Regions from separate parts of the Homo sapiens genome. Here region 2 is linked to region 1. The links are contacts of gene promoters, found by promoter capture Hi-C in blood cells and fetal thymus (Javierre and others, 2016). All regions are on one chromosome and are shown on one strand. The core of a region is centred on a gene start or on the middle of the fragment in contact, and the rest is flanking DNA. Distances in the headings are between cores, read along the strand shown.

The links. The method cuts DNA at HindIII sites, captures the fragments that hold promoters and counts their contacts. A CHiCAGO score of 5 or more calls a contact.
Region 2: a fragment that was not itself captured here is called in contact with the fragment with the promoter of CIB2 in region 1 in 1 of 17 cell types (total CD4 T cells); the score reaches 5.0 in total CD4 T cells.

The regions. Positions count from the first base shown.
Region 1 is chr15:78,130,125-78,132,824 of GRCh38, reverse strand. CIB2 (calcium and integrin binding family member 2) reads left to right here and starts at 1,380. Exons shown (of 6, transcript NM_006383.4): 1 at 1,380-1,660. The coding sequence starts at 1,610. RefSeq lists a silencer at 1,156-1,675. The HindIII fragment of the contact is 4,409 bases long and covers 1-2,700 here.
Region 2 is chr15:78,415,906-78,418,605 of GRCh38, reverse strand. No RefSeq gene overlaps it. Among named protein-coding and RNA genes, the nearest start is that of IREB2, 21 kb to the left of the region's middle. The HindIII fragment of the contact is 3,863 bases long and covers 1-2,700 here.

The sequences.
Region 1 (2,700 bases), core at 131-2,630:
ATGCTGCTCTGGCATATTGAGTATTTGAGTTAAAGGCACTTGAAAAATAGCAGATGCAAGAAGGGCACTCTTGATCATCCTTCTTTTTCTAAAAAACAGGAGATGAGGCCGGGCATGATGGCTCACATCCTATAATCCCAGCACTTTGGGTGAGAAGCCAAAGTGGGTGGATTGCTCGAGCCTGGGAATTCAAAACCAGCCTGGGCAACACGGCAAAACCCCATCTCTACAAAAAAAATACAATAATTGGCCGGGCGTGGTGACTCAGGCCTCTAATCCTAGCACTTCGGGAGGCTGAGGCAGGTGGATCACCTGAGGTCAAGATTTCGAGACCAGCCCAGCCAACATGGTGAAACCTCTCTCTACTAAAAATACAAAAAAAAATTAGCTGGGTGTGGTGGCATGCCCCTGTAGTCCCACCTACTAGGGGAGGCTGAGGCAGAAGAATCGCTTGAACCCAGGAGGCGGAGGTTGTAGCGAGCCAAGATCGCGCTACTGCACTCCAGCCTGGGCGACAGAGGGAGACTCCATCTCAAAAAAAAAAAAAAGTATTTAGATTTTGCCAGTTCTCAGGGTCTTCATTTCCTTATGAGGGCTTCCACGTCATGTAAAACTTGTATTAAATCTGTTTTTCTCCCCTTAATCTGTCTTATGCCAAATTAATTCTCAAGCCCAGCCAAAGACCCTAGGAGGGCAGAGGTAAAGTCCTGCTTCCCTTACAATGGCATCTGCTTAAAAGCTCCAAAAAATGTCTTGGCCTTTGTCACACTTCTGTGGACACAGTCAAGTCCTTTAAATCCTCTCAAGTCTCACGTTTGTAACCAAGCCAAGTAAATCCTGTCCTGCTCCCTAAGGAACACAGAAGGTCTGAGATGCCCTGCCTAGGCCGCGCCCAAAGGCCAGATGGGCTTCCCGAGGCCTGGCCGGGAGGGCCTCAGATGTCAGCTTGACTGACCCCCTCCTTCTCCCCAGAGGGACAGGGCCCGGGTAAGGGCTTGACCAAGGTCGCGACGCGAGACGGTGGCGGAGCCCGGCCCCAGCTAGATCCACGCACTCACAGTCCTCGCTGCCGCCCCCGCCCCAGGTCAAGGGGCGCCACTCGCCCCACTGCCCGCCTCGAGAGGGTTTTTTCCCAGGCCCCGCACCCTCACGCCGTGCGACCTGGACTCCCACGGCGGGACCCGGGCTCACACCTCTTCCTGCTGCGGGGCGGAGTCGCCGCCGCTCCGGGTCTTTGTCCCCGCCTCCGAGACCCCCGCGCGCCCCCAGCACTTCCGGCCGCGGGAGCCAAGGGTTCGTGCCGGGCAGCGTCTCCCGGGGCCAGGTCGCCTCCTGCCGGGACCCGGGCGCGCTGCAGCCGCGGAGCCGGGTGCCCCGCCCTCTTCCCGCCGGCGGCGGAGTCGCTGCCGCTCCGGGTTCCCGTCCCCGCCTCCGAGACCCCCGCGCGCCTCCTCCAGGCGAGCTGCGGGGCGGGAAGGGTCCGGCCACCGTGGGCCGCTGCCAGCCGCGGGGCTGCCGAGGGCCGCGGGCACGGGGCGCTGGCTCCGGGTCTGGCGGCCGCTGATGGGAGTCGGAGCCCGGGCGGGCGAGCGGCGGCGCGGCGGCCACCATGGGGAACAAGCAGACCATCTTCACCGAAGAGCAGCTAGACAACTACCAGGTGAGCTCGGCGCGCCCGGCCCCCAACACAGGCCCCGCCGCCCCGCCGCCCCTCCCTTTTCTCGGTCGCTGGCCGAGGCCTCCCGAGAGCCAGCTCTCCCAGGTTCAAACCCTGCCTCTGCCTTCAGCTCGACGCGTGACCTTGGGCCGGTGACTTCCCCTCGCCGTGCCTCAGTTTCCCCACCGGTGGAATAAGAGCTCTTTCCAGTTGGAAGAACCTCTCAGGCGCGCCTCTCTCCAGCTACTCTCGCCCTAGGCAGGACCCGAACCCCTCTCCAGCCACCCATTCCAGCGCCCATCTGGCCCGGAGAGGGAGTCAGTAAACTAGGCTGGACGGAGGACCGCCCTCCCCGCTCCCTGCCCCCCAGCCCCAGGAAGGAGCCCAGGAGAGCGAGTCTCTGTAAAGCAGAAATGAGAGCTGGCGTCCTGTCTGGTCTAGGAGTGGGGTGCATCAGTCCCCACATGCAGTCTTCCCTTGGGACTGTCTTGTTTATCGGCTGGGGTTCGCTCCTTCTGACCCCAGCATGGAGATAACTGGAGCAAGAACGCAAGCCCGGTAGCAGCCTTCCAGGGCCACCTCTCCCAGCTCCCTTAGGCCCTCAGTAGCCACCTCCTTAGACCTTTCTAGGTTTTCCTGCCTCCAGAGCCAGCTTTCCAGATCTGGAATCCCAATACCGTCCCACCCAGGTAAAAACTTCGCTGTGGTTGCAGGATGAAGCCCAACCCCTTGGCTTACCCGGAGCCCTGGCCAATTGCTCAGCTTATCTCTGCAGCCTCAGTCTCCCCAGGTCCCTTCCCTGCCCTCTGCATGGCAGCCGCCTTAAAACCATTTGCAGTTGCTCCAGCTCACCAGGCTCATTCCTCCCTCCCTCTCTCCCTCTGCCCATGCCATTTCCTGGGCCTGGATGCCTTTCCCCCCTCCAGAGGATCTCTTTCACCCTTCAAGTCCCACATCTGATGCCTCTCCCCTGACTCCCCAGGCGGAGGGGGCAGGATTGTGTTGTGGCCTGTGTAACTGGGCAGGAGGAACACCAACAGGGT
Region 2 (2,700 bases), core at 110-2,609, 290 kb before region 1:
AGTCTCTAAATAAATAAATAAATAAATAAATAAATAAATAAACTCTCCAGCTTGATATTTGAGCCCTCTCACCTTCCTGGATCTTCTGCGTCATCTCACTGAGTCATCTGCTTTCCAGGGGAAGCAGGCCCTGAGCTTCCCCACATCAGCCTCTGTTTCTGCTGTTCCACCCTCACCCCCCGTTCATCTCCCATGAATGCCACCCCCTTCCTCTCCAGCTAGGCAAACCCACCCATCCATCACCCTGCACCCTTTTTTTCCCTGAAATCTTCCCAATCTTTCACACCTCAATGTCACTGCTTCTCTCTCAACATGGGTGACATCATTATTGCAGCCTTCCTGACAGCTCTTCCGGCAGACCCATGGAAGGGCTCTTTCAAACCAGGCACTGCTGAGCAAAAGGGAGGCCGGGTTGGAAGGATTTGGCAGGGCTACTGAGGACCCTTCAGCACCACTGCCTCCCACTAGGCCCATCTCTTGAGGCCCTCCCCCAGCCTCTTGGCCTTTGAACTTTCAGAGCCCTGCCCTACACATTCTGCCTGCTCTTTGTCACCCCATTCCCCGAGCTCAATCTTTCATAATGTAAGCATCTATCTCCCAGCACCGGGTATATCTGTAGTATTGAACTTTTTTTTTTTTTGAGGCAGGGTCTCGCTCTGTCACTCAGGCTGCAGTGCAATAGTGTGATCTCAGCTCACTGCAGCCTCTGCCTCCTGAGTTCAAGCAATTCTCCCACCTCAGCTTCCTGAGTAGATGGGACTACAGTCATGTGCTACCACTCCCAGCTAATTTTTGTATTTTTAGTAGAGACGGGGTTTTGTCATGTTGCCCAGGCTGGTTTTGAACTCCTGATCTCAAGTGATCTGCCTGCCTCAGCCTCCCCAAGTGCTGGGATTGAGGCATGAGCCACTGCACCCAGCTGCGTTGAACATTTTCTATTTTTCATACAATTCAGCCCAAAACATAAGCCCACTACTGTATCTGGTACTCAGCTGAAGAAGCTGCTGTCTATCTATGCTGGAGGAAGAGCTGGCTGTATTGATCTTATTCAAAGATATTTTTGTCATGCAATAATGCAATATATAGAAAACCTAGAGGATTTTCAAGGTCATTTTGACTAAATAGGATTTTTACTTTAAATGCTGACTTTAGAACCTATGCCTGTATAAGATGTGGCTCTGCTATGCAGAGTTTGTGAGATTATTAGGAAGTATGACTCCATTTGGAAAAATAGCTGCTCTGAATAGGTAGAGACCTTTGCAAACTGTCTCTGAATCCTAGGATGTCTTCTCCTGTAGGGCATGAGCCTTGGGAGGAAGCTGGGAGCTGATTCAACTGATGCGACAGTGTTCTGACCCCTTTTTGTCAAATGAAGCAAGTGAGGCCTGAAGGAAATAATGTATACAGTGGTCCATTTCCAAGAAAATGTGCCTTAAATCAGCTTAGGTTAGCAAACTACATAAGAAACAGGATATACTAGGCCCCTGCTTGGATAGCCGATGCCTGCTTGTTGTGCGCAGCCCCCTCACCACCCCCTGCCGCCTTAGTTGCCCTCACCCGAACCAAAGAAGTTTAGTCTAAAATGAAAGTTTATTAGTCTGCAAAATAGCTTGCTTTGTCTGTTCTTATCAGCCTGCCCAGCTACGTAGGTCGTAAGTCAAACACTTAAAGAGCCCCTGAGCTAACTAGGATTGCGATGCATTGTGGGCTGCAGCAAAATGCAGCAAGACAACCCTAAAGAAAACACCTAAAGCCCCTATCCAACAACCAATAGACGACGTCCAGGAAGATTGTGACCCCACAGTACTCAAGCCTATGAGGAACAGGGGAAGGGACCTGCTCACTAGGGTATAAATTGCTTGTTAAAACTGTGCTGGGTGTGTCTGCCCATCAGACACCCAATCTTGCAAGACTATCATTAAAAGTCTCACTTTTGCTGATCTCCAGGTCTCCGAGTTCATTCTTTGGGTTTGGACAGGTAAGTTTGTTTCTCACAAGGCCCAGAGAAAGGAAGCGACTTATCGGAAAGTCTGAAGGAGAAGACAGCAGGTGAGACCCAGCTTGGCAAATTGTCACAATCAGGACACCACCATGATCAGATACCACGACTGCTGCTGCTAGCTGAAGAGTCACTCTGTGCCTGCCACCATCTATACTAGTTAATGCCTCATGCTCTGCTTCTTAATACACATAAAGCGTGTGACTGGACACTGGAATTCTCAAGGGCCACTGAAAAATCAGCAGACCCAGCAGAAGTATGGCCTCCTCCTCACCTTCCGTGCAAGCCCATCTGATATGCTGAGCCCAAATCACACCACAAATCCTGCTACAGGGGAGTCTGGGAAATACAGATCTGAGCTTTCCAGCTTCCTCAGTGGAGGAAGGAACACAAGGAGAATGAAATTGATGCTGAGCACCAATTCATCATTATAAACTTGTTTCTGTTAAACAATTAGCTGCAGTAGATTCAGATTCAAGTGTCTACAAATCAAAACCCCTGTCCCACACAGGTTCTGTCTCTGGTGAGAGTGTCCCTTCTCACTTCCTCCAGGAGATGCCTGTTCCATTGTGTGACAGACTGTCTATGAAGATGTTTTCTTTTATGTTGAGCTGAAACCTGTGCTCATCTGGTTCTCACCTGTCCCAACTTTGCTTTCTGGGACCAAACAGAATGCATCGACTCCTGTTTCCTTTTAACTG